Linked DNA regions of Homo sapiens: regions 2, 3, 4, 5, 6 and 7 are each linked to region 1. Evidence: promoter capture Hi-C in 16 types of primary human blood cells and fetal thymus (Javierre and others, 2016). All regions are on one chromosome and are shown on one strand. The core of a region is centred on a gene start or on the middle of the fragment in contact, and the rest is flanking DNA. Distances in the headings are between cores, read along the strand shown. Region 1 holds the start of GP6 (glycoprotein VI platelet). Region 2 holds the start of NLRP9 (NLR family pyrin domain containing 9). Region 3 overlaps TTYH1 (tweety family member 1). Region 4 holds the start of CCDC106 (coiled-coil domain containing 106). Region 5 overlaps LENG8 (leukocyte receptor cluster member 8). Region 6 holds the start of ZNF784 (zinc finger protein 784). Region 7 overlaps LOC105372460 (a long non-coding RNA gene).

The links. Contacts are between HindIII fragments. The CHiCAGO score rates a contact against its expected background, and 5 or more counts as called.
Region 2: a contact is called between the fragment with the promoter of NLRP9 here and the fragment with the promoter of GP6 in region 1, in 2 of 17 cell types (naive CD4 T cells and neutrophils). The highest score is 6.1, in naive CD4 T cells.
Region 3: a fragment that was not itself captured here is called in contact with the fragment with the promoter of GP6 in region 1 in 1 of 17 cell types (monocytes); the score reaches 5.5 in monocytes.
Region 4: a contact is called between the fragment with the promoter of CCDC106 here and the fragment with the promoter of GP6 in region 1, in 3 of 17 cell types (non-activated CD4 T cells, naive CD8 T cells and total CD4 T cells). The highest score is 7.6, in non-activated CD4 T cells.
Region 5: a fragment that was not itself captured here is called in contact with the fragment with the promoter of GP6 in region 1 in 1 of 17 cell types (M0 macrophages); the score reaches 5.2 in M0 macrophages.
Region 6: a contact is called between the fragment with the promoter of ZNF784 here and the fragment with the promoter of GP6 in region 1, in 3 of 17 cell types (naive CD8 T cells, total CD8 T cells and total CD4 T cells). The highest score is 8.4, in naive CD8 T cells.
Region 7: a fragment that was not itself captured here is called in contact with the fragment with the promoter of GP6 in region 1 in 1 of 17 cell types (M1 macrophages); the score reaches 5.9 in M1 macrophages.

What each region holds. Positions count from the first base shown.
Region 1 is chr19:55,036,009-55,039,902 of GRCh38, forward strand. It overlaps GP6 (glycoprotein VI platelet), which reads right to left and starts at 2,256. Exons shown (of 8, transcript NM_016363.5): 1 at 2,195-2,256. The coding sequence starts at 2,228. All of the region lies in intron 2 of GP6-AS1 (GP6 antisense RNA 1), which reads left to right. It also overlaps a transcript of RDH13 not described here. The HindIII fragment of the contact is 26,016 bases long and covers 1-3,894 here.
Region 2 is chr19:55,736,486-55,740,379 of GRCh38, forward strand. It overlaps NLRP9 (NLR family pyrin domain containing 9), which reads right to left and starts at 1,917. Exons shown (of 9, transcript NM_176820.4): 1 at 1,610-1,917. The coding sequence starts at 1,889. It also overlaps the pseudogene RN7SKP109. The HindIII fragment of the contact is 10,494 bases long and covers 1-1,994 here.
Region 3 is chr19:54,421,273-54,425,166 of GRCh38, forward strand. TTYH1 (tweety family member 1) reads left to right here. Exons shown (of 14, transcript NM_020659.4): 3 at 5-116; 4 at 918-1,138. Among named protein-coding and RNA genes, the nearest start is that of TTYH1, 7.8 kb to the left of the region's middle. RefSeq lists an enhancer at 913-1,713. The HindIII fragment of the contact is 3,325 bases long and covers 220-3,544 here.
Region 4 is chr19:55,646,113-55,650,006 of GRCh38, forward strand. It overlaps CCDC106 (coiled-coil domain containing 106), which reads left to right and starts at 2,100. Exons shown (of 5, transcript NM_001370470.1): 1 at 2,100-2,965; 2 at 3,093-3,197; 3 at 3,296-3,472. The coding sequence starts at 2,935. RefSeq lists silencers at 2,176-2,295, 2,326-2,455 and an enhancer at 3,516-3,565. The HindIII fragment of the contact is 17,145 bases long and covers 1,155-3,894 here.
Region 5 is chr19:54,451,031-54,454,924 of GRCh38, forward strand. LENG8 (leukocyte receptor cluster member 8) reads left to right here. Exons shown (of 16, transcript NM_052925.4): 2 at 260-352; 3 at 1,063-1,237; 4 at 1,621-1,722; 5 at 2,516-2,626; 6 at 3,400-3,652. The coding sequence starts at 315. Among named protein-coding and RNA genes, the nearest start is that of LENG8, 3.8 kb to the left of the region's middle. The HindIII fragment of the contact is 1,697 bases long and covers 534-2,230 here.
Region 6 is chr19:55,622,444-55,626,337 of GRCh38, forward strand. It overlaps ZNF784 (zinc finger protein 784), which reads right to left and starts at 2,123. Exons shown (of 2, transcript NM_203374.2): 1 at 2,041-2,123; 2 at 1-201. The coding sequence starts at 2,118. RefSeq lists enhancers at 2,104-2,603, 2,354-2,503 and silencers at 2,104-2,153, 2,224-2,283. The HindIII fragment of the contact is 2,172 bases long and covers 275-2,446 here.
Region 7 is chr19:54,517,813-54,521,706 of GRCh38, forward strand. The region is part of intron 2 of LOC105372460 (a long non-coding RNA gene); the gene reads right to left. Among named protein-coding and RNA genes, the nearest start is that of LAIR2, 17 kb to the left of the region's middle. The HindIII fragment of the contact is 2,017 bases long and covers 1,282-3,298 here.

The sequences.
Region 1 (3,894 bases), core at 1,006-3,505:
TTTGCAGTAAGCCGAGATCACACCACTGCACTCCAGCCTTGGTGAGAGAGCGAGATTCCGTCTTTAAAAAAAAAAAAAAAAAGTCTTTTGCAGCAACTTGGATGGAGCTGGAAGGCATTATTCTAAGTAAAGTAATACAGGAGTGGAAAACAAAAATCTGTATATTCTCACTTATAAGTGAGAGCTAAGCTGTGGGTATGCAAAGGCATGCAGAGTGATGTAATGGACTTCAGAGACTCAGAAGGGAAGGGCAGAAGTGGGGCAGGGATGAAAAACTACACATTAGGTACAAGGTACACTAGTCAGGTGACAGGTGCACTAAAATCTCAGAATTCACCAGAATATAATTCATCCATGTAACCAAGAACCACTTGTATCCCAAAAGCTACTGAAGCAACAAGCCAGATGCAGTAACCTGTACAGGCCACACCTGTAACCCCAACACTTTGGGAGGCCGAGGTGGGTGGATCGCTTGAGCCCAGGAGTTCAAGACCAGCCTGGGCAACATAGCGGACCCCCGTAACTAAAAAAATTACAAAAACAAGCCAGGCATGATGGTGTACAACTGTAGTTCCAGATACTCAGGAGGCTGATGGGGAGGCACTGGTTGAGCCTGGGAGGTTGAGGCTGCAGTGAGCCATGATCATGCCACTGCCCTCCTGCCTGGGTGACAGAAGTGAGGCCCTATCTCAAATAAAATTAAATAAATAAAAGTTAAAACAGGCTGGGTGCGGTGGCTCACGCCTGTAATCCCAGCACTTTGGGAGGCCGAGGCGGGTGGAACCTGAAGTAAGGAGCTTGAGACCAGCCTGGCCAACATGGTGAAACCCCGCCCCTACTAAAAATACAATAATTAGCCAGACCTGGTGGCAGATGCCTGTAATCCCAACTATTCGGGAGGCTGAGGCAGGAGAATCACTTGGACCCGGGAGGCAGAGTTTGCAGTGAGCTGAGATCATGCCATTGCATTCCAGCCTGAGCGACCGACTGAGCGAGACTCCATCTCAAAAAACAAACAAAAAGAAAAAAAGAATACATCCATGGATGGATAATGAATGAGAGGTTGTTTATATTCACAGTTAACCCTCTCATCTCCAGTAATGCAACCATCTTCTTCCTGCTTAGCCTTTTGGAGATGCTGTCCCTTTAGTGGTCAAATTCTGAAGAAATCAGGAAATAATGCATTCGACATGCCCAGCACAAGTGAAGATCAGGCAGCAGAAATGCATTCGACCTGCCACCCATCCATCAGGAGACTATTTACTCCACTACTGTAGGGGATACTGACAAATTAAATCCATACCTAGTCCAGATATCAATTCCACAATTTTTTTTTTTTTTTTTTTGAGACGGAGTTTCGCTCTTGTTGCCCAGGCCAGAGTGCAATGGTGTGATCTTGGCTCACCGCAACCTCCACCTCCCAGGTTCAAGCGATTCTCCTGCCTTAGCCTCCAGAGTAGCTGGGATTACAGGCATGTGCCACCACACCCGGCTAATTTTGTATTTTTAGTAGAGATGGGGTTTCTCCATGTTGGTCAGGCTGGTCTCAAACTCCCGACCTCAGATGGCCCACCCGCCTCGGCCTCCCAAAGTGTGTAAGCCATGGCACTCAGCCTTTTTTTTTTTTTTTTTTTTTTTTTTTGAGATGGAGGCTCTCTCTGTTGCCCAGGCTGGAGTGCAATGCCTGACCTCAGCTCACTGCAACTTCTGCCTCCCAGTTTCAAGCAATTCTCCCACCTCAGCCTCCCACGTAGCTGGGATTACAAGCACCCGCCATCACGCCCGGCTAATTTTTGTAGAGATGGGGTTTCACCATGTTGACCAGGCTGGTCTTGAACTCCTGACCTCAGGTGATCCACCCACCTCGGCCTCCCAAGGTTGAGATTACAGGCGTGAGCCACTGTGCCTGGCCCACATTTTTTAAAAAAGGGGCAACTGCAGTGTAGTAGAACAAAGTTGTGACCAATGCTAGGATACTCTGTTCATTTCCTGACCCAGCCATGAATACACTGGAATAACTCATGCAAAATGCCAGCTCGCTGGCCCCCCGTTTCCCCACCCAACAAATGAAGGGGCTCTTACAGGTTCCTTTTTGTCCTGAAATTCATCACCAATGCAAATTTCTTAAAAATCCTTTGTCTGGCAGTCCATGCCTGTCCTTCAGCATTTCCCAGATCTGACCCTCAGGACTCACCAAGACAGAAGAGGGCGGTCGGGGATGGAGACATGGTTCCTCAGCCCTGTCCTGAGCTCTGTGGCCAGGGAGGGAAGTGGTGGGAGCCTGGGGCACAGGCTCAGGATGTGATGAGGATGAAGAATGCTCTCCTCCCTTCCTCCACCAGCCCCGGCCTTTCCTAATTGAGACTCATCGAGCCGTAGCCGGCTCCTCAGTACAGTGACTTGCACACAAGCTCCAAGGAGCCGCGCTTATCTCCTCTGGCCAGCCTGGCGTTGCACCGTTTGTCCGCCTGCTGGGGCCTGGTCTGTGTTCCCGTGCTCCCATAAACTCCCTGATGTCACTAGGAAAATACGCATCAAAACCACAGTGAGATATGACTTCACACCTTCTGGAATGGCTGTATTTTTTTTTTTTCTTTTGAGACAAAGTCTCGTTCTTTTTGCCCAGGTTGGAGTGCAGTGGCGCCATCTCGGCCCACTACAACCTCCACCTCCCAGGTTCAAGCGATTCTCCTGCCTCAGCCTCCCAAGTGGCTGGGATTATAGGTATGTACCACACCAGGCTAATTTTTGTATTTTTAGTAGAGATGGGGTTTCACTGTGTTGGCCAGGCTGGTCTTGAACTCCTGACCTCAGTTGATCCACCTGCCTCGGTCTCCCAAAGTGCTGGGATTACAGGCATGAGCCACTGCACCCGACCGGCTATAATTTTTTTTAATGGAAAACAGCAGATATTGGTGAGTATGCAGAGAAATTGAACTGCGCGTGCATTGCTGGCAGGGACGTAACATGGCGCCCCTGCTGTGGAAAACAGTTCCAGCAGCTCCTCCAGAAGTTAAACGTGGGATTGCCATAAAATCCAGCAATTCCACTTCGGGGTACACACCTAAAAGAACTGAAAACAGGGTCTCTAACATATTTGTACACAGTGTTCATAGCAGCTTTATTCACAATAGCCAAAAGGTGAAACCACCCACATGTCCATCAACAACAATGGATAAACAACATGTGGTATATACACACAAGGTAATATCAACCAGCCTTAACTAAAAGAATAAAAATCAGCCAGGCACAGTGGCTCACGCCTGTAATCCCAGCACTTTGGGAGGCCGAGGCGGGCGGATCACCTGAGGTCAGGAGTCCGAGACCAGCCTGGTTAACATGGTGAAACCCCATCTCTACTAAAAATACAAAAATTAGCTGGGCGTTAAATTAGCCGGGCATGGTGGCAGGTGCCTGTAATCCCAGCTACTTGGGAGACGGAGGCATGAGAATCGCTTGAACCTGGGAGGCAGAGATTGCGGTAAGCCGAGATCGCACCACTGCACTCCAGCCTGGGCGGCAGAGTGAGACTGTCTCAAAAATAAAAATAAGGCCGGGCGTGGTGGCCCATGCCTGTAATCCTAGTACTTTAGGAGGCTGAGGCAGGCAGATTGCCTGAGCTCAGCAGTTCAAGACCAGCCTGGGCAACACAGTAAAACCCCCAAAAAATACAAAAAAAAAATAGCCGGGCATGGCGGCAGGCACCTGTAGTCCCAGCTACTCCGGAGGCTGAGACAGGAGAATGGCTTGAACCCGGGACGCGGAAGTTGCGGTGAGCCGAGATCGCGCCATTGCACTCCAGCCTGGGTGACAGAGCGAGATTCTGTCTCCAAAAAATAAAAAATATTATAAAAGAATAAATTCAGATACATGCTACAACGTGATGGACCTTGA
Region 2 (3,894 bases), core at 667-3,166, 700 kb after region 1:
GGTCATTTTTTCATCTGCCAACATAGAACATTAATCAGCAGAAAAGTCAAAGACACGAACCACACAGATAAAGAAAACTGGCACACACCTGTAATCACAGCACTTTGGGAAGCCCAGGCAGGAGGATCATCTGAGGTCAGGAGTTTGAGACCAGCCTGACCAACATGGTGATACCCCGTCTCTACTAAAAATACAAAAATTAGCTGGGCGTGGTGGTGCATGCCTGTAATCCCAGCTACTCGGGAAGCTGAGGAAGGAGAATCGCTTGAACCTGGGAGGCAGAAGTTGCAGTGAACCGAGATCATGTCACTGCCCTCCAACCTGGGCAACAGAGCAAGACTCCGTCTCAAAAAAATAAAACAAAAACAAAAAAAAAAACAAAAAACTAACACAGCAAGCAACTCCAAACCAAATAAAATACCCTCAAGCATGTGGGGATACGAAATAAGGTCTCAAATTAGAATTACCAACACAAAGAAGAAACATGAACAAAACAGAAGTAAACGTAACAGAAGTTGATGGAACTCAAAAGTAAAGGGAGAAGATAACAATCATCAGAAACAAATGCTAATTACTAGATACCTAATAGGGAATATATTTAGTTTTTCCTAAGTATCCCCCGAGAGGAGGGTGTAGACCCCATCAATGAGTCCAGCAGAACTGGTTCGGAGTCAGATCTGTCACTTTTGGAAAAGTCATGTAACACATGGGAACACTGTTTTGTCCAGTTTTCTCACTTGTAAACCTTTCCTGGGTTGTGATAAGAATGAAAAGACATTATGCAGAAAGAATGCTTCCAGGACGTGAGGACAACCTGGCTGTGATGTCTGTCACCCCATTGGTCGCCCCAGGGCTAATTCGGCTGATGTGGCCAGCTGGGTGGGTGTCCACTTCCTCCCTCACTGCTCCATATGCGTCCGTCCTGAAAGTCTCCCCTGGGTCAAAGACGATGACAACCTTTGCCCATAGAGGAAGGTCCTTCCATCGCGGGCAGAAGAGAAGCTGTGCTCCCCTACTAGAACCTCCAAACAAGCTCGCAAGAATGCTTCCTGTAGTACCCGGGACATACGCTGTCTGATTGTCTTAAGATTCTACCTACTCCTTGGTACATGTCTGGTCAAAAAGGACAGGCAGTTAGGCATGGTGGCTCACTCCTGTAATCACAGCACTTTGGGATGCCTAGGCAGGTGGATCACTTGAGCCTGGGAGTTCAAGACCAGCCTGAGCAACATGGCAAGACCCTTTCTCTAAAAAAAAAAAAAAAAAAAAAAAAAAGATAGGCAACTACCATACTAGAATTCCATCTCAGTAGACCTGGCAATGCAGACACTAACTGGCCACTCATCTCCTATAACAACGACTCCACTTGGGGTGGAAAAATGGGAAGACACTCCATAGGTGAACAGTTGGTATCAGGACGCCATCTGTCCCCAGTTCATCGCTGGCCCACATATGAACAGCCCTGGCCTGCAACTCTTCCTACCTTCAACTCTCACCTTGACCCACACACATTCTCATCTGATGGAGGGGGTGGCCACTCATTTAACAATGCTATCACCTTGTTCCCAGGCTTCCCCCATGGGTCCTCGCCCCATCATCCAGCACTTACTTCTCATCTCTTCCTGAGCCTTTGTCCAGAGATCTTTCCTATTGATCTGTAGAAACAGGTTCAGTGTTACCTCCCATGCCTGCTTTCCTGGGTAATGTTTGTCCAGCAGCTTTGCTACATCTTCTTTGGAGGCCTTCTTCAGCTCAGCCCAGGGGATTGGCTTGAGTTCAAATTTCTCCAAAGGTTGTTTGAGGAGCTCCTTAAATTTCCAAAACTCTTCCTTTCTGAGCTCCTTCAGATACCACAACAAGCCAAAATCCGAAAAAAAAGATTCTGCCATATCGCCCCAGGATTGTGAACTGAGGTGTCTCCAGAGGGAAAAGAAAGATCCTCAAAAATAAAGAATAAATGATACCTGGAGAAGAATGACATGATTACAGAGTTAAGCTTCAGCAGCTGAAAGCAGCTCAAAATTATTGATATCATCATGCGTAGCTTGCACCAAACATCATCTAGGGAAGAAGCTTCATCTTTTTCCAAACAAATGCATGTGAATGGTAGAGTTGACTGCCACTTATGTGTCTTGTTTTTGTCTGACATAAATGATGCTTCCAGGAACAAGTGTTTTTGTGTAGTTTGGTGTATATAAGCACACATTTCTCTAGATTTATAAATTATAGGTCAAACAGCAAACACAGGTCACCATGTTTGCTACATAACACTCAACGGTTTTCCCTTGTGTATATAATTACTGACATTCCTACCAGCATTCTATGAGTTTGTTTGCTCTGTAGACCTTCCCATCCTTAGTATAGTCTAATCCAATTTTGATAATGAAAAAATGAACGGATATTAAAATTACAGATGATCACATTCAGGAAGATGAAAATAAAGGAAGAGGACATAAAAGCAAATTTAAATTTTTTTTTATCGTTTAGTGGTATATGCCTTCTTTTTTTTTTTTTTTTTTGAGACAGAGTCTCGCTCTGATGCCCAGGCTGGAGTGCAGTAGCGCAATCTCGGCTCACTGCAAGCTCTGCCTCCCGGGTTCACGTCATTCTCCTGCCTCAGCCTCCTGAGTAGCTGGGACTACAGGTGCCTGCCACCACACCCGGCTAATTTTTTTGTATTTTTAGTAGAGATGGGGTTTTACTGTGTTCGCCAGGATGGTCTCGATCTCCTGACCTCGTGATCCACCCGCCTCGGCCTCCCAAAGTGCTGGGATTACAGGCATGAGCCACCGTGCCCGGCCGGTATATGCCTTCTTATTACAGTATATAAGGAAAAAGTTAGATTTACTATAGGTTAGCATCTGCAGACAACTCAGACAGAAACAGAGCAGTGAACGTTCCCAGTATTATAAACCCTTCAGATAATCATTGCAATTCAACAAAAGACAGGAAATGAAGTAGAAATATATGGTAGACAAAATAAGACAGGTGGCAAAAATAATACCAAATATATATAGATATGTATTTTGAGATAGAGTTTCACTCTTGTTGCCCAGACTAGAATGCAATGGTATGACCTCAGCTCACTGCAACCTCTGCCTCCCAGGTTCAAATGATTCTCCTGCCTCGTCCTCCCAAGTAGCTGGGATTACAGGCACCTGCCACCATGCCCGGCTAATTTTTTTTTTTTGTATTTTTAGTAGAGATGGGGTTTCACCATGTTGGCCAGGCTGGTCTCGAACTCCTGACCTCAGGTGATCCACCTGCCTCAGCCTCCCAAAGTGCTGGGATTATAGGCTTGAGCCACTGCGCCCAGCCTAAATATAATCTTAACACATATGAATGAAATAAAATTGCTCACTAATATATAGACTCACATTGGATAAATACAAATCCTGCTATATGCTGTTTATAAGAGAATCCTAGAAAATACACAGAGAAGTAAAACAGAAGAAGAAAAAGCCTGGCAAATTCTTACCCAAAAAAGTATTAATAGTATAAAATATCAGCATTGAAAAACACTCAAGCTAGAAAGCACTAAATGGACTAAGAATTTTTGAACACCAAGATTCAGTTCCCCAAGATCTAGAACTCATGAGCATATGTGCACCTGGGAATACCACTTTACACATAAGGAGATGATGACAAACGCAATATCATTGTATCTGAGCTAATATACCTTTCAGATAATTACAAACCATTAGCAAAGGTTACATACCATCTATGGTCACATGCAAAAGAATAAACTTGGACCCTTAATACCATAAACAAAAATTAATGCAAAATGGATTGAAGAAGATCTAAATGGAAGGCCCAAAGTATAAAACTCCTAGGAGAAAATGTAGGGCAGAAGCTTCCAGACACAGATTTGGTCTGGATTATTTCTTGAATATG
Region 3 (3,894 bases), core at 632-3,131, 620 kb before region 1:
TCAGCACTGGCATTGGCATCGGTTTCTATGGCAACAGTGAGACCAGTGATGGGGTGTCCCAGCTCAGCTCTGCGCTGCTGCACGCCAACCACACACTCAGCACCATTGACCACCTGGTGAGGGGCCAGCAACCAGTGGGACCCCAGACCCACACCTGGACGGGCTCCCCACACCCAAGGACAAAGGGATCCAAACTCAGAGCTAAGACCCCAGGCTTGAAGCTTAGGAACCCAGATTCAGAACTTCATCCTGAGACCCACAGACCTCAGACTATCCACCCAACCCCCGACCCTGGCTGCAAATTGAGGACCTCACACACAGGCCCAGCCCTGGACCTTACCTGGAACCCCCAAGCCACACAGAAACCAAGCACCAGCGACACCAGCCCCTGTCCACGGGCCAGATCCAGGGCCCCAGACCTGATTCTTGGCCCGTAAGCAAGCTCAGGGACCCCCGCCCTGAGGCCCAGGTCCCCGACTTGAGGCTTCAGCTCCGACATCAGCTCCAGGATTCTGGGCCCTGGGGCTGAGGCCTGGCCCCACTTCATGCCTTAGATTCCATGTCCAGCTGCAGACTCTAGACCATGGGACCCAGACTTGAGACCCCAGATTCTGGAAGGCAGATGAAAACTTCAGACCTAAAGCTCCACACTTAATCTCAGTCCTGGGGCTGGACTTACTACCCTGGGCTCAAGCTACCAACCATCCAGAGCTCTGGATAGAGGCCACAGAACTCCATGAACTTGATCTTGAAGCCCCTCCCCAATCCCTTCCCTTACTCAATCCTCAGATGTCCCAGACTCCAGATCTCAGACACCCGCTACTATGCACCCCTCCTTCACTTCTAAAACCCCATGCCTCGACCGCGGGCTCCCCCCAGGATGTCCTTCCAGACCTCAGCCCCTGTCCTATCCCCAGGTGTTGGAGACGGTGGAGAGGCTGGGCGAGGCGGTGAGGACAGAGCTGACCACCCTGGAGGAGGTGCTCGAGCCGCGCACGGAGCTGGTGGCTGCCGCCCGAGGGGCTCGACGGCAGGCGGAGGCTGCGGCCCAGCAGCTGCAGGGGCTGGCCTTCTGGCAGGGAGTGCCCCTGAGCCCCCTGCAGGTGGCTGAAAATGTGTCCTTTGTGGAGGAGTACAGGTGAGACGCTGCTCTTCTTGCTCTCTGTGCCGGCAGCTCTCAGGCGGAGTCCCCGGGGGGACAGTTGGCAATGCCTGGAGGCAGTTTTGGTTGTGACAGCTGGGGAGTGTGTGCGCACTGCTGGCATCCAATGGGTAGAGCCCAGGAACTGTTCAACACCCTGCAATGCACAAGAACCCCCTCCCCACCCATTGGCAGGGAATGATCCAGCCACCATGACAATTATGACGAGGCTGGCCAGGCGCGGTGGCTCAGGCCTGTAATCCCAGCACTTTTAGGAGGCCAAGGTGGGTGGATCACCTGAGGTCAGGAGTTTGAGACCAGCCTGGCCAACGTGGAGAAACCCCGTCTCTACCAAAAATACAAAAATTAGCTGGGCGTGGCGGCAGATGTCTGTAATGCCAGCTACTCAGGAGGCTGAGGCAGGAGAATCCCTTGAACCCGGGAAATGGAGGTTGCAGTGAGCCGAGATTTCACCATTGCACTCCAGCCTGGGCGATAGAGTGAGACTCCATCTCAAAAAAAAAAAAAAAAAAAAAAAGATGAGGTTGAGAAACCTACTGTGGAGGGACAGATCACCAGACCCCATGGCCATCCTGACACCCATGTCCTCACCCATTCACTCACTCACCCCCTCCACGTCACTCCACTCACTTATTCACACATGCGTTCATTCCTTGACTCACTCATTCAGCAAGTCACTCTTGGACTCAGTTACTCCTGGACTAACCCAGCAGGCCACTCACTCAGTCGTTCATCCGTGTGACATGTGTATTTGTTCAGCACTATTTTTTTTTTTTTTTTTGAGATGGAGTCTCACTCTGTCGCCCAGGCTAGAGTGCAGCGGTGCGATCTCGACTCACTGCAACCTCCGCCTCCTGGATTCAAGCGATTCTCCTGCCGCAGCCTCCCAAGTAGCTGGCATTACAGGCAGGCGCCACCACGCCCGGCTAATTTTTGTATTTTTAGTAGAAACGGGGTTTCACCATGTTAGCCAGGCTGGTCTCAAACTCCTGACCTTGTGATCTGCCCGCCTTGGCCTCTCAAAGTGTTGTTCAGCACTATTTATTTAGCACCCTCTGGTGAAAGAGGCAGCGTACCTACAGATCAGGAACCTGAGCTCGAAAGCCAGCCAGCCCCACCCTAACCACGCGGCTGCAATCAAGTTACTTTGCAGACCTCTGCCTTGGTTTCCCCATCTGTGAAATGGGAATCGGGGCAGCGTCCCCCTTGTTGAATTGGTTCGAGTTGTTGAGTTGGCATCTGAGTGCTGAGAAGGACGATTAGCACAGGGAGAGCACCGCAGAGATATGAAGTGTAGTCACCCCGGTGGCGGGCCGGGCAGTGAGCAAGTGGCAGAAATCCCTGCCACGTGGCTGCGTCCTCCGGGGGGAACCAGCAAGGGACAAACGCAGAGAAAAACATTGTAAGGTGTTGGGCCATGAGAACTTTGGAGAAAATTACAGAGGGGACCAGGCACGGTGGTTCACGCCTGTAATCCCAGCACTTTGGGAAGCCGAGGCAGGCGGATCACGAGGTCAAGAGATCGAGACCATCCTGGCTAACACGGTGAAATCCCGTCGCTACTAAAAATACAAAAATTAGCCGGGCGTGGTGGTGGGCGCCTGTAGTCCCAGCTACTTGGGAGGCTGAGACAGGAGAATCGCTTGAACCCAGGAAGTGGAGCTTGCAGTGAGCAGAGATCGTGCCACTGCACTCCAGCCTGGGTGACGGAGCGAGAATCCGTCTTAAAAAAAAAAAAAGAAAATTATAGAGGGAGATGAGGTGGGACAGAGTCTGGCAGTTCATCAGGGGGACTGAGAAGGTGGCATTTGGAGGAGAGGAGGCAGTGAGCTGTGCAGTGTCCAGGCAGCCACCCTTCCCAGCGGCCACCATGACGGTGTCCTCATTGCTTTGACCATTAGTAATCATTCATTCATTCATTCATTTATCCGACGTCAGCTGGAGGCCCTGCCCGCGGGGCATGCGCTGAGATTTGGGAGGCCTTCCGGGATGCTGCGCTCCAGCGGGGAAGGCCGACTGGGGCTGAAAAAGCTGGAGGTCAGGACACACCCGCAGGGCAGCAGGTGCAAGAGACAGACAGGCCTGGGTTTGAAGAAGTCCAGGTTCTGCATTGTGGTCAGGCCCAGGGGCTGCACAAGCCGGGCCTCAGCTCCTTCTCCTGGGCGAGGGCAGGGAAGTGGTGGGAGCCATAAGGGTGATGCCAGGGTGAGGCAGACCCACCATCACTAGAAAATATCTTCCGGGTGCACCACTGCGAAAGCACCCCACACTTGGGAGTCCCTCGACAGACAAATCAGGGGCCTCCAAGGGAGTCTTGCTGGAGGGGAGCACTTGCGAGGCTGGGCGGAAGCAGCCAGAGACCAGGGTAAGGAGTGAAGCCCAAGCTTGTGGGGCCTGCAGAGAATGGCAGGAGGATTAACTGAGCACTTACTACGTGCCGGGCACTGTGCTGTTGTTACGGCGGGTCCTTGCTCCCGGAGCTCCCAAGATCGTGGTGGCCACTTCCAAGAGGGCAGCAAGCCTCGTGTTCTCTGACCTGGGGTTCTTGGCCTCACGGATTCCAAGGAATGGAATCCTGGGCCCTGCGGTGAGTGTTTTAGCTCTATTAGAAGCCGTGGGTCACGGAAGAGAACCGTGGAACCCAGCGACCAGTGTTCAGCTCGATCAGGATGAACCCAGGCAGTTAGCTGTGCAGGAACAATGGCGAGCCTCTAGCCCGATTGGGAGCGGCA
Region 4 (3,894 bases), core at 850-3,349, 610 kb after region 1:
GTGATTCACCTGCCTCGGCCTCCCAAAGTGCTGGGATTCCAGGTGTGAGCCACAGCGCCTGGCCTCTTTTTTTTTAGACGGAGTTTCGCTCTTGTCACCCAGGCTGGAGTGTAATGGCGTGATCTCAGCTCACTGCAACCTTCACCTCCTGGGTTCAAGCGATTCTCCTGCTTCAGCCTCCCAAGTAGTTGGGGTTACAAGCGTGTGCCACCATGCCCAGCTAATTTTGTACCTTTAGTAGAGATGGGTTTCACCGTGTTTGTCAGGCTGGTCTCGAACTCCTGACCTGAGGTGATCCACACACCTCGGCCTCCCTCAGGGCACTAGGCCTCGAAACAAAAGTTTTTTTTTTTTTTTTCTTTTGAGACGGAGTCTTGCTCTGTCGCCCAGGCTGGAGTGCAGTGGCGCAATCTCGGCTCACTGCAAGCTCCGCCTCCCGAGTTCATGCCATTCTCCTGCCTCAGCCTCCTGAGTAGGTGGGACTACAGGCGCCCGCCACCATGCCTGTCTAATTTTTTGTATTTTTAGTAGAGACAGGGTTTCACTGTGTTAGCCAGGATGGTCTCGATCTCCTGACCTCGTGATCCGCCCCCCTCTGCCTCCCAAAGTGTTGGGATTACAGGCGTGAGCCACTGCGCCCGGCCCACAAAAATTTCTTTACCATAGTTAGCTTTAGTTTGTGCATTTTTTTTTCCATCAACTATTATTATTACTATTTGAGACGGAGTCTCGCTGTGTCGCCCAGGCTGGAGCGTGGTGCGATCTCGGCTCACTGCAACCTCCACCTCCCCGGTTTAAGCGATTCTCCTGCCTCAGCCTCCTGAGTAGCTGGGATTACAGGTGTGCACCACCACGCCCGGCTAAATATTTTTTTAAACTGCTGATTTCATCCTATTCTATTGAATTCTCCACCCATGAACCTGTAGTTTGGAAAAGACCAATCTAGGGCAGATGGCTCCCCCTGGAATTTTTGGACCAGGCTGCAGTTAATCTGTAAAGTGGGGAGGGGAGGATCATGGTCACAGCTTTGCAGGCGGTGCAGACATTTAGATTCTCCCTCCATCGGGTTAAGACCTTGCTCTTATAAGGGCTGGCCACAGTCCAGAGCTTGGATGCTTCTGGTGAACAGGAGAGGCAGGTGGAGCTGAGCCTGAAGCTTAATAAACATCTGCTTATTCATTCATTTTTCTTGCCTATTTTGTGCCAGGCACTGTGCTAGGCCTCATTTGCTCTTCCGACCTGTTTTTTTGGGAGGAAGAACAAATCTTCCGTTCATACTCCCCAGAGTGGGAAAGAGCCTCCCAGAGGCTGCCATCATACCCCACCATCTGACCTCAAATAATACCAGCAGCGCTCCTCTCTTCAGCCCTGACGATGGCCAGGTGCTGGGCTGAGCTTCTGTGTGTCGCATCACTGCATCCTCACAATAAATTTAGAAGGGCTTGTAATTTCCCCATTTTGCAGGTGAGTTAACAGGCTGGGGAGGAGCAGGAACAGTCAGGACTGGAATCTAGCTTTGCTCCAAAGCCAGCTCTTAATTACCAACATGGGGATGGGGGTGGCGTGTTCCTGGCCCTCATTTTCCGGGAGAGGGGTAACTCCCCCGATTTTGGCCCCCACATCCCTGAGAACCTTGGGGTCTGGCTGTAGGAGGTAGGGGAGCTCTGAGGGGTCCGCGCTGGCTAGTTCCTGAGAGAGCGTTAAAAGTAGATTCTCCTTTCGCTCCAACTTTCTCGGTGTCTCAAACACTCTCCTGCCTTCTGGGCCCATTGGGCACACCGCCACCCAATCCGGGGACCCCCGGAGACTCGCCAGCTCTCCAGGATGGGAATTTCGTGATGTTCCCTGCCTGAGCTTCGGGGAGGGCGGGGGAGTGCTGTAAGGGGCTATCGCGCAAGTGCAGACCCTCTGCTTCTGCCGCAAACGGCGGGCCTCACCTGGACCCGGGGACTCTTCAACGAGGGGCGCTAGCCTGGCCCGACTGGGCGAGTCCCCGCGTCCCTGCCCGTTCCGTCGCTCAGTTCCACGACACGCTCCCCTGCCGCCCCGCCTGTTCGCGGGTGGGTGGGCGCTTCCCTCGGCTCCCCGTGACACTTTGCAGACGCTCCCCGGCGCCGGGCATGGGCGCCGCCGCCGTCGGTCCCCGAGCCGGATTCCGCGAGCGGGTGGGTGAGCGCGGGGGGCCTCGGCCCCTCGGACCCCGGGCACCCGCGGGCGGGGGATGGTGGCCGCGTTTGCACCCCCGCCCTAGTGCATGTTCCCGCTGGAATCGTTCCACGACCGCTCCCCCTCCCACCCGCGGGACAAAGGGCGGGGGCGGGGGGGGCGCACCCCCACGCGTGACCTTTCCCCGTACTGCGCACGCGCCCAGCCCCCACCACCGGGGGACGGTCCGCCCGCCCACGCGAGTGCGGGGGAGGGGTGTGGGGGCCCCGAAGGTAGAGGAGGCAGCGCGCACGGGCTGGACCTCCTCCTACCCTGGGAAGTTGGGGCAGTTTCCCCCTGCACCTGCCTCTTCCTTAGGCCTGGCAGTGGCCCGCGATGAGAGAGGGTCCTTCCCCTTCAGGCTAGGTGTCCCTGGTCAGGCGACCCCTTGGGGCACCCAGCAATTTAGGGCTTCAGCTTCCTTTTCCTTCGATACCCAGGAGCCCACGTCCCCAGCTCACTTCTCCCCCAGGACCTAGGCGGCTGGGCCCCCTGCCCCTGACTCCAGGAGCCCAGGAGTTTGAAGCCCAGGCGCGTTTTGCCTCAGTCCTGGGGTCCAGGCTCCCTCCTCCCTCAGACCAGGGGTCCAGGCCAGAAGGTCCCTCCTGTCTCACTTCACCTCCCCCAGGATGGACCCTCCAGTCCATCTGCGTCTCTCCATTTGTGGCTGCCGTTTCTGTCCAGTGCCCCTGAGGCCCTCGGCTGCTGGGGTCCGTAGGAAGCCGCGCCATGAATGACCGGAGCAGTCGGAGGCGGACAAGTGAGGAAGCTGGGTCCCCTTCCCTACCCTGGGTCCCAGTGCGGTCGGCTCCAGGCTGCCGTGGTTGGGGGGTGGCCTGAGAGGCCCGGGGAATTCTCTGGGGTAACCCGGGGCCTCTCCTCTCCAGTGAAGGACGATGAGACCTTCGAGATCTCCATTCCCTTCGATGAGGCACCCCACCTAGACCCACAGATCTTTTACAGTCTGAGCCCCTCTCGGAGAAACTTCGAGGGTGAGCTGAGGGGGTGTGGAGGGACTGGAGTCAGCTGGGAAGCCAAGCCCTGAGTCCCAGGGTGTGACCTGGTCCCCCCACCCTCGCTGTGTCCCTAGAGCCTCCGGAGGCTGCGTCCTCCGCCCTGGCTCTGATGAACAGCGTCAAGACCCAGCTGCACATGGCTCTGGAGAGGAACTCCTGGCTGCAGAAGCGCATCGAGGACCTGGAGGAAGAGAGGGACTTCCTGCGGTGCCAGCTGGACAAATTCATCTCTTCTGCTCGGATGGAGGCAGGTGTGTGTGGGGTGCTCTGATCCACATGCCTCCCTGTCCCGCTACTGGGTACCCGCTCACCCAGACTCAAGGCTCCACTGTTTGGCTGGCTGGGTGGGACCTGCCATGTTGGCCCTATCTGCTAGTCCCCTGCCTGTTTTGGGCCCCCAGGCCCAGCTGCCTCCTCACTTGATTCCAGGGCCTCATCCCCATGAACTGTCTACTGGGGCCCGTCCTCCTGCCTTCTCCGTCAGCTCCCCAAATCCCATCAGCCTCCAGTGCCCTGCCATCTGCTTCCTTGGCCCATGGTGACTTCAGGGACCCTGGCACCTGAGAGCCCCTCTCTTCTGACTCCTAGGGGGACCTTCCTTCATCTCTTTGGCCAAGAGGCCCACCCTAGTTCTTTGGGTTTCCTCAGGGGGCCCCTGCTCCTCCTCCCGTCC
Region 5 (3,894 bases), core at 132-2,631, 590 kb before region 1:
TGGGAAGTCTGCTCTGGCTTCCCTGTTTCCAAATCCTTCGTTTTCCACCTGGAGCTCTACAAAGGGGCCAGGGGCTTCCCCTCACTCCAGCCTTTCTAGTCCACACCCAGAACTCTTCAGATCCTTGACCCCAGTGGCTTTTCAGTCAGCCTCCCCTTTTCTGCCCGGCTTCTCTTGAGTCCATCTACTTTTCTTCCCCACTTTGTGACGTGTTTTTAGCTCCCCCTTAAGTCTCCCTAACTCATTCTTTTTCTCATAGACAGTGAAAAAGCAGTCTGGCTCCCGAGGTCCACCCCTTATACCCCAAGGTCCAGATGGCGGCCAACGTGGGTGATCAACGTAGCACAGATTGGTTAGTGAGGCGAGAGGGATGGAGGCCAGTCGGGAGGGAAAGAGGAAGCAAGACCCAGTGCTGTCCTCTGGGGTGGGACCTCCCGTGGCCTTAGGGGAGGTGATGCCACAATCCCTGTGGGTGGGGGTGGTGGTGAGGCAAACACAGAGGGAAGCATTTGGTTGTGGTGTGGAGAGGGGCAAGCTTTCACCTCTCTGAGCTTTCGTTTTTCACAGTACAGCGCTTGCTTTGCAGAATTGTGATGATTCATTCAAGCAAGTGTAATTAGGAGGCAGCTTCCCAACACTCAATACACAGTCATTTATTTGTTTTTCTGCTGATTCCTTATTTTTTCTCAAAATAGTGTGATAACCTGCCGACTGGGGTGATGTCAGACAGAATTCATTGATTCATGAAAGACATAGCCCTAGGAGGTGCCAAGGCCTGTGTTCAGTTCTGTGGGTTCTGTTAATTGTTTTGTTTGTTTGGTTTTAACAACTGCTGTGTGCCAGGCTCTGGGATAAGTACCTTAAGTAGGTGATCTCATTTATCCCTCCCAGCAGACTCTGAAGCAGAAACCCTTTATCAGCATAGTACAGATTAGAAAACTTAGGCTTAGACTGGTAGTAACAGTTAGATATGGGATCCAGGGGCTGGAATTTGCCTCCCAACTTGCCCACCTGTGTACAGTGGGGAGAACAGGTGTGACTTGATGTCCTCTCTCTCTGCAGGTCTTCTCAGTACAGCATGGTGGCTGGGGCAGGCCGAGAGAATGGCATGGAGACGCCGATGCACGAGAACCCGGAGTGGGAGAAGGCCCGTCAGGCCCTGGCCAGCATCAGCAAGTCAGGAGCTGCCGGCGGCTCTGCCAAGTCCAGCAGCAATGGGCCTGTGGCCAGTGCACAGGTGAGAAGGCCTCATGGGGCTGGGGTACCCTGAGCCAGAGGTTGTGGGAGGGACACAGTCTGGCGTCCTGTTGTATCATTCAGACGGGGTGCTCTGAGGGGAAACATGAAAAGACGTTCCAGGGTATCTAAATCTGAACGGGAAAAAGTTCTGTTTCCTTGAGGAAATTAGGGCGTGATGTGGTTCTGAAGAGGGAGGCCATGCCCATGCCCCTGGTCTCTAACGTGCGTGAGTCTCATGGTAGAGACAGTGGCTCACTTTGCAGATACATGGACCCAGTTTCATCCCTTGGCAATTGGCCACCAGTAAACAGGCTTGCCCTTTGGGGGCCGTGTGCCTGTGGATTTGGGCTGCTGACGGCACATGTGCCTCTGCTTCCACAGTACGTGTCCCAGGCAGAAGCCTCAGCTTTGCAGCAGCAGCAGTACTACCAGTGGTACCAGCAGTACAACTATGCCTACCCCTACAGCTACTACTATCCCATGGTGAGTGCCCAGCCAGTGGGGCGGGGCAGGGCGAGGTGGAGTCTGCTGGGTCGGGGCGAGGTGAAGTGGAGTCTGCCGGGATGGGGCTGGGTGGTGGATGGACTGGAGATCGCAGTGATAACTGCTCAGAAACCCTCTAACTTGCCCAGGAGGTAAATTCCTAGGTCCCCGCCATGAGCCACAAGGTCCTACATACCCGGTTCTGGTCCCTTCTCTCCTCATGCTCATTCTGCCATGGCCATCGAAGCAGAGACCTCCTTGATGCCCGCACCCGCCAGGCCCGCTCTCGCTTTGCCCTGGCTGCAGTGCTCCCTGTGTTGCCGCCTCTTGGAGGTCTCTGCTCAGATGCCGCCTTCAGAGAGCCTCTACCTGACACACTGATTGAAAGTAGCATTCCTGCCTCGCAGCCTGTCCCTCTCCCTTTCTTTGCCATCTTATTGTTTCATGATCCTTATTGCTGGATGTATTACATGTTGATGTCTCCAGCCGGACATGTAATTCCAGCACAAGCTTCATTACAGCATGGGTTTTCCTTTTGTTCTGTCGTAGTGCTTAGAAGAGTTGGCACTCAGTATCGTTGATTATATTCTTCCGAGAACTAGCTAAGTGAGATGTGGGATTGATAGAGGTTTTTCTTTTCCTAATATATGAGAGGATGTGGTGCATTAATATAGTGAAGAGAGAAAGGGGTGAGGGATTGGTAGAGGGTCATGGCTGGTGTAGTTCCTGAGCAGGCTGGGGAAGCGGAAAGGGTAGGCCTCCCACTAAACCCTCCCTCCCTGCGCCTTTGCAGAGCATGTACCAGAGCTATGGCTCCCCTTCCCAGTATGGGATGGCCGGCTCCTATGGCTCAGCCACACCCCAGCAGCCATCCGCACCCCAACACCAAGGGACTCTGAACCAGGTAACATCCTAGCCCAGCTCCCATACCCTGCTCAAGCAGAGGAAGTGTAGATTTTTGAATGAGCTGTCAATGAGGAATGGCTTGTACTCCTTAAGCTGCTTTTTTCCTTCCAAGCAACTCCTGATCTGAAAATGAGGAGGACAGAGCATAGTGTTTGAACCTGGGGTGGGTTTAAGGCTGAGCCAAGGCCAGGGCTGAGATGTTGAAAGACATCTCATCTTTTTCCCTAGCATGGTCACCCACAGGCGTGCACACACCGGCTGGGTTTTGCATTGAATGTGCAGCTTGGAGGAATGGCCGGGCTAGTGCACAGGAGGCAGGTAGACCTGGGTTTGAATCCCAGCTGTCCCACCCCTGGTGTAATTACGCATCTCGGTCAGCTCTCGAAAGCGGGAAGGATGGTAGCCTCATCCTTGGGCTCCATGAGTGTGTGTGCTCATGGGTGTCTTGTGCTCAGATGGTAGCGCTGGAGTGGGTGTGTTGTCGGTGGCTGTTACTCCAGCATTGAAACGCTGCCAGCTGCCGCTTCATAGCTTAGGGCCCTGGGAAGTCGCTTAGTCTCTGAGCTGGAGCCTTGTCAGCTGTGAAAAGGGCTGTTAACAAATGTTAACCTCACAGAGTTACTGAGGACTCGAATGAACTCACATTTGGGAAGGTCACGGGAGGGTTGAGTGCTGAGTGCTGTGACCACTGCGTCCTCACAGCGAGGGCTGAGTGCCACTCGCCAGCCCCAGAATCTGCCTCCCGTGCTCAGCGCCTGCTTCCTTCTGCAGCCCCCAGTCCCCGGCATGGATGAGAGCATGTCCTACCAGGCTCCCCCTCAGCAGCTGCCGTCGGCTCAGCCCCCTCAGCCCTCAAATCCCCCACATGGGGCTCACACGCTGAACAGTGGCCCTCAGCCTGGGACAGCTCCAGCCACACAGCACAGCCAGGCGGGGCCCGCCACGGGCCAGGCCTATGGGCCACACACCTACACCGAACCTGCCAAGCCCAAGAAGGGCCAACAGCTGTGGAACCGCATGAAACGTAAGTTGGCAGAGCTACGTGGAGGTCCGAGCGGTTGGGCCCTCATAAGAGCTCCTGGGTGTGAGGCCCGTGGTGTGTGCTGCTCCTTGTTTCTGGGTGTTGTGATCGCCAGGCTGGGGGTGGGGCTGCTCTGGACCAGGCACATGTGTGCTGGAGCCCTCCTCTAGAACCTGAGCGCTCCTCCCTGCATTTCCACTTCCTCCCGTCCCCTGGGGACCCCTGGATGTGCCGGGGAAGGGCCT
Region 6 (3,894 bases), core at 873-3,372, 590 kb after region 1:
TCCCTCGGCCCCAGCCAAGTGGCCATGTTCGTGGAACAGCAGCTCGGAAACCAGCCGGAAGGCAGCAGGGCACAAGGCACAGTGGAAAGAACCTGGCTCCGGGGGCTCAGGGACCAGCGTGGTGTCCGTCACCTTCACCACCTGGATCTCGATGAGGTCACTCGGGGGTGTGCCAGGCCGGCAGTCATCAGGCACCAGGACCTGGGCAAGAGGAGAAGAAAGAGGAGCCTGTGGAACCTGCCTCAGGACCGCCCCAGCACGCCCCAATTATTAAAGCTTGGGCTCCTCTGTTATTTTCAGACAGGGCCTCACTCTGTTGCCCTGGCGCGATCGTGGCTCATTGCAACCTTGACCTCCTGGGCTCAAGCGATCCTCCCACTTCATCTCCCTGAGTAGCTGGGATTACAGGCATGCACCACCACATCCAGCTAGTTAAAAAAAAATTATTTCTGGCTGGGCACGGTGGCTCAGGCCTGTAATACCAGCACATTGGGAGGCTGAGGTAGGCAGATCACCTGAGGTCAGGAGTTCGAAACCAGCCTGGCCAACATGGCAAATACCGTTTCTACTAAAAATGCAAAAATTAGCCAGGTGTTGTGGCTGCTGCCTGTAATCCCAGCTACTCGGGAGACTAAGACACGAGAATCGCTTGAACCCAGGAGGTGGAGGTTGCAGTGAGATGTGATCATGCCACTGCCCTCCAGCTCAGGCGACAGAACAAGACTCCATCTTAGACAGCAAAACAAACAAAAATTATTATTATTATTTTTAATGTAGAGGGAGTCCCACTATGTTGCCCAGGCTGGTCTCCAACTACTGGGCTCAAGAGATCCTTCTGGCTCTGCCTCCTAAAGTGCTGGGATTGCAGGCGTGAGCCGCCGCGCCCGGCCCATCCTCCAGGATTCTGTTGTATCCTCATCAACATTTCCTCTCCTGTCCAAAATATATCATGGATCCCACCTTTTGTCCTCCACCCTAGTTAAAGCCCCATCACTTGGCGCCTCCAAAATTGAAAAACCCAAGGGCATCTCTGTTCCTATTTCTGCTGGCTTGTAACCCACCTCCCAGGAATAGCCTGAAGGTCTTTTGAAAATGTAAATCAGATCAAGTCATTTTTCGCACTCAAAACCCTCCAGTGGCTCCAAATGACTTATCCCAAATCGTCACTATAATATCTGTGGCGATGTAGCTCCACTTATCTCTCTGACCCCAGCTTAAACATAAGCCGGCACCCAGCTGACTTCTCTCGTCTAAATTTAGCTGCCCCACCCCTACTCTTGGCTCAATTTATAGAAATTGGCTCAATTTTTATTTCCTTTATAGAACATATCACAGTAACTCTCCTTTATTGTCTCTCTCCTCTCAAGAGACTGCAGGCTCCAAAAGAACACAACCCTTGTCTGTCTTGGTCACTTCTCTATTTACAGAGCCGAAGTAGGAGCTCAGTAAATGTTTGTTGAATGAATGAATGTCCTCAATTAGTCTAATTCTGAGTGGGGTAACGTGGAGGAAGTTCCAAAGTCACCTAGACCACCCACTTCTACCCCCAAATTCTCCCTTGGGCATTCGAGAAGCATCACTAAGACCCTTGAAGAATTATCCCCTACCCCGACATAGGTGCTCCAATCATAATCCCCCACGTTTTTCAGGGTCACCTTCCCAACCTTCTACCCTAGAATTAGCCCTAGAATTTATGAGGCCCCGCCCCTTACAAGGCTCCACCCAAATTATGCAAATTATCCCTGGTAAGCCCCCTTCCCTGGACCCAAACCCGTCCCACAAGACAACACCGTCCTCAGACTCCGCCCCCATCCAGGCCCCGCCCACCACCCATAGGTCCCTCCCCCACCCCGCCCACCATGACATAGTCTCCTCCCCTGCCCCGCCCCTCGCGAAACCACAAGAAGCCCCACCCCCAGGGCCATAGCACTAAATACCTCCCTCGCCCACCCCCTCATAGGCCACGCCCCGGACCCGCCCCCCACACTACGACCTCCTCCCACCTCGAGCCCCACGCCCAGGCCCCTTCCTTGCCCGCACCAGGTCCAGTGGCTCCTGGGATCGCGACTCCGGAGTCGGTGAGCTCCGACTCTGGGCCTCTGGGCGCGCAGCGGCCATCTTGTGCCCAAGCCCCGCCCCCAAGGCCAATGTTCGCTCTGAAAGGGGGTGGGGCTCGAACTGGCGTAAGAGCTACTGCGCAGGCGCAGTGCGGGGCTGCGAGGGGGCGTGGTGCAGCAGGGGGCGTGGCGGGGCGGGGCGTGGCGGCTGAGCCCGGGAGAATGTGAGTTGTTCCCTCTCTAATTACCTGTCTGTCCCTCCGAGGGTACGCTCTGTGTGGCGCTAGGATGCCTGTAACACCCTGGGAACAAATCCGAACGTTCCTTCTAAACCAACGCAGGCCGACTCGAGGCTCTGGCTGTCAGGGGAACCTCAGCAGAACTGAAGAAGCTTTGCTTTGTTTCCACGGTAAACGTTTTTGTGATTACCTCTGCACTGCTCATGACAACGTAATGACGCCAAGTTTATAAACGTCGGTGTAGGCCGGGTGCGGTGGCTCATGCCTGTATTCTCAGCTACTCGGGAGGCTGAGGTGGGAGGATCGCTTGAGGCCGGGAGGTCGAGGCTGCAGTGAGCCATGATCTCGCCACTGCATGCAGCCTGAGTGACAGAGACTCTGTCAAAAAAAAAAAAAAAAAAGGCAGTGTGGAGAAAAATATTCAGTAAACAGCAACACAGGTGGTCCTGGGAGGACGCAAAAACCCGCAAGCTGATGTTATGTTTGGGAGGAAAGAGCTCAAAAACGCGGGGTTTTCAGCAGCATCAAGGACGGGGCTCTTCTTAGCTGCCCCGTTTAGTCATTCTGGTGGTATCACCTTGGATAAGTCACTACACTTCTCTGGACCATTTCTCTTTCTTTTGTGTAGCACTGTAGAAGCATTGTGACAAACCACTGAGAAGAGACATGGAAGAGTTTGGAAACATCTTTAAATAGTTTTCTTGAAAGGGCAGGATAGGAGATACTTAAACATGATCCTAAGCATGATCATTTCATTCATAAATATATATGAAATTATATTTTGTGATATGTTGGTATAAAATAAAGATAAACACCACTTAGGCTGAATTATCTCCTCCTCCTCCTTTCTTCTTCTTTTATAGAGATGGGGATCTTGCTGTCTTGCCTTGCCCAGGCTGGTCTTGAACTCCTAGCCTTAAGCGATCCTTCTGCCTTGGTCTTCCAAAGCTATATTTCCCTTCTTTTCTTTTGATTTTAAAATAATTTTTTTTTTTTTGAGATGGAGTCTCACTCTGTCGCCCAGGCTGGAGTGCAGTGGCATGATCATGGCTCACTGCAACCTCTGCCTCCCGGGCTCAAGCGATTCTCCTGCCTCAGCCTCTTGAGTAGCTGGGATTACAGGTGCCCGCCACCATGCCCGGCTAATTTTTGTATTTTTAGTATATACAGGGTCTCACCATGTTGGCCAGGCTGGTCTCGAACTCCTGACCTCAGGTGATCCGCCCACCTCGGCCTCCCAAAGTGCTGGGATTACAGGTGTGAGCCACTGCGCCCGGCCTAAAATAAATTTTTAAATGTTGTGGGTCCCTAAGAGTATCATGGGCCCTAGGCACTGTATCTACTACTGTGTCTAATGCTTAAGTCAGCTCTTTCTGTCCAGGTTTCCTAATTTGCAAAATGAGGGTGATAATAAAACCTACTTTACACAGTTGCTATGATGATTAAAGAAGTCATTATATATAAAGTATTTTGGACAATGTATGGCACACAGCAGGTGCTATGAGTTAGCTATAATAATTACTACCATTTGGCACTCCCACTAGCAATAAATAGGGACCTTTGTTGCTTAACATTCCTATCAATATCTGATACTCAAA
Region 7 (3,894 bases), core at 1,040-3,539, 520 kb before region 1:
TAATCAGTAACTTTTTTTTCAGGGCAATATTCAGGCATTAGGGTAAATTGGAAAAAGAGGATGCCAGTTGTTAAGGCGATGTTTTTGGAAAAAAAATAACCCTTACATTCCATGGATTCTGCAAGCAAGTAGAATGGCCTGTTGTGGGGTCGGGGGTGGGGGAGGGGGAGGGACAGCATTAGGAGATATACCTAGTGTAAATGACGAGTTAATGGGTGCAGCACACCAACATGGCACATGTATACATATGTAACAAACCTGCACATTGTGCACATGTACACTAGACCTTAAAGTATATACATTAAAAAAAAGCTCAGAATGTGGGCTCCCACACTCATCAGGACAACTAGAATAATCCAGGGTGTCAGAAAGAGTTGGTTCTCTCCAATCTAGCTGAGAATATCTCTTCCCGGACTTTCAAGATACCAGCTATTGGGTAATGGCCAAACGACAACAGGCTTTAAATCACACCAAACTGCTTTCAAAACCTGAATCTGACCTTGCTATCTTTATGTGCTTGGGAGAGTCACATTACCTGTCTAAGACTCACTTTGCTTTTCCATAAAATGGCACTAATAATGCTGTCTGCTTTGTAAGCATGTTTGGAAGACGGATGATCGGGGATTATTATATTCTGCCTCTCTGTTTAGCTAGGAGGGAAGGCTCCGGAGCCAGGAAGGCTGGGATATGATCATTGCTTTGTCTCTGAAAACTATGAGATTTAGGAAAATTACCCACTTGACTCAATTTTGTCATTTATAAAATGAGGGCAATGCCAGTACCTACCTTATATAGAGTTTTGGTGGAGAACACATAGTTACTGCATGTGACGTGCAAAGTAAACTCTGAACATGTTGTTAGACTCACTCAATAATGTGGGCTATTGTGATCACTACTATAATGTTACTCTAAAAACGATGATAATATTATCATAGTTTTGTGGCTACACAGAGCCTGATAAACTTTGCTCAGTAATAATACCTGTTTTTATGAATCATTGTTAACATTTTCTTGAAGGTCCTTGGACATCTGACATATTCCCTGATTTACTTTCCAAAGTTCTGGGCTCCCCATCTCAAGCTTACAGACTTAGCCTGGACGGATGCCGGCATTTGTTTTTTTCAAATATTTACTCAGCAACATCTCCTGGGACTCGGGACTCTGATGTGCCACATCCTGTATAGGAAACAGGTGATGTGGAAATGAGTCAGACTCAGCTCCTGCCCCTGACAGACTCTGACAGAGAAATCTGCAATGCACTGATAAGACTCTGCTACCAGAAGCTTAGGCGCTGCTGAAACGCAAAAGAGATACCAATTTATCTTTTCCTAAGGAGTGAAGGAAAGCCCCTTGGCCATGAAAACCCCTCAGATGGTACCAAAAATATAGACAATTGATCCAGAGAGGAAAAGAGGGGAAGGAAAGAGTAGAGAGCATCCTCAAATGAGAGAGCAGTGTATTCGGAAGCATCAGTAGCTATGAGAAGCTACAGGCTCAAACAAGGGGAAAGATTTAGGAGGAGAATTATTCTCAATTGCTGGAGTGAGGGGTTGAGCCAAATAGGTTAAATTAAAATTTTCATTGTTGACCATGGAAGGGCTGCGCACTGGGGCAATAGGAGAAACCTCCAGGAGTGTTCAGGGAAAGAAAGCAATTAAACGTGGATCATGTTTTTTGTTGTTGTTTTTGTTTTTTGTTTTTTTTTCTGAGATGAAGTCTCGCTTTGTCGCCCAGGCTGGAGTGCCATGGTGTGATCTTGGCTCACTGCAACCTCCACCTCCCGGGTTCAAGTGATTCTCCTGCCTCAGCTTCTGGAGTAGCTGGGATTACAGTCATGCACCACAAGGCCCAGCTAATTTTTGTATTTTTAGTAGAGATGGGGTTTCACCATGTTGGCCAGGATGGTCTCGATCTCCTGACCTCGTGATCTGCCTGCCTTGGCCTCCCAAAGTGCTGGGGTTACAGGTGTGAGCCATGGTGCCTGGCCAGATAAATTTTTAAAAGAGAGGGAGATTTGGCTGGGCATAGTGGCTCACGTCTGTAATCCCAGCACTTTGAGAGACTGAGGTGGGTGGATCACCTGAGGTCAGGAGTTCGAGAACAGCCTGGCCAACATGGCTAAACTCCATCTCTACTAAAAATACAAAAATTAGCCAAGCATAGTGGCAGGTGCCTGTAACCCTAGCTACTCAGGAGGTTGAGGCAGACGAATCGCTTGAACCCGGGAGGCAGAGGTTGCAGTGAGCCGAGATCACACCACTGCACTCCAGCCTGCAATAGAGAGAGACTCCATCTCAAAAAAATAAAATAAAATAAGAAGATGACTGTGGGAATGGTAAACTGATTTCCAGGATGGGATACCCAAAAGGCACTGCAGACCTGGGGAGAGGGTAGCAGCAATATTGACTTTCATTGTGGACACGGCGAGTAGAAAAGTCCTGTAGGGAACTCTATAGGTTCTTGCCTAAGGGAAGAGTCACAAAGCTGTTGGACAGAAATGGAAACACTACCAAAAGCATCAACGGAGAAGAGAAAAAGGAAAAGAGTACAAGGGATGGGGATAGGGTAGAAAAGGATGATTCTCAACAAGTCAGGATTTCTCCTACCCAAACATCTATGGTATACACCTGCCACTCCTTGCCAATACTTTTGTCATTATATATATATTTGAGACAGAGTCTTGCCCTGTCGCCCAGGTTGGAGTGCAATGGCGCAATCTCGGCTCACTGCAGCCTCCAACTCCCGGGTTCAAGTGATTCTCCTGCCTCAGCCTCCCGAGTAGCTGGGATTACAGTCACCCACCACCACACCCTGCTAATTTTTGTATTTCTTTATTTATTTTTTTAGTAGAGACAGGGTTTCACCATATTGGCCAGGCTGGTCTCCAACTCCTGACCTTGTGATCCACCCACCTTGGCCTCCCAAAGTCCTGGGATTACAGGCGTGAGCCACTGCGCCTGGCCTACAAATGTGTTAATATCTCAGGGTGTGTGTGTGTGTCTGGGGAGGGCCAGGTGGTTTTCTGTGCTGAGTTTGCTCTGTAGGGAAGAGCTGTGTTTTCTGGGGCTGTAGAGTTTAGCTCAGTCCTGATCATCAGCAATACGAATGTCAAACAGGAAGGCTTGTGTCTTATTTGGATGAAGATGCAGACCTGTGGAAGGATTTTGATCAGGGCCAGAAACAGGAAAGTTTGGGGCTATGAGAATTAATAGACATCAGCAGCAGTGAGGGTCTGGAGTAGGGGGCTGGGAGGAGGCTGATGTGGTGACAGAGACACGATGTCTTCAGTCTCCAGCTGAGCTTGGACTGTGGGGATGGGTCAGGGGACGTGGGTGAGGAGGGACTCGGGGAAAGAGCTGTTTGGATTTGTTCACGGTGTGGGGAGCAGAAGAGCGTGAGGAACTGAGAGTTGCTCCAGTCTCTGCCTTGGTTCACTGGAGGAGCCGATGGGGCTGTCTCGGGATGGATGACCCCAGGAGAAGCAGCAGGCAGGGGAGGTGTTGATAAGATGGATAACTGGCCTCAGAGAAAGCAGAGCCTCCCTCCAAGCCCGAGTGTGTGGTTTTGTTCCTCCCAAACACTTCCTTCATCTGACTTCCTTTGTTCTATAATTAGCAGCACCTTCTCTTCATTCTTCTCTTTCAAAACCTCTGATTCATTTCTACCTCCTCACTACAGTGTGTTTTCTGAAAGTTCTCAAAGCACAGACTAATTCCCATTTTCCAGGAGAACCACACATTTCATATGGCTTCAAGCCAGACAATGGGAATCCACGCAGAGAGAACATGCACGCACACAAACAGGAAGGACGCAGACGGGCTTTGGGGGTGACGAGGGACAGCTTCACCCTGAGGTCTCAGGCGAGGGGTGAGGAAGGAGACTCATGTGAACTCC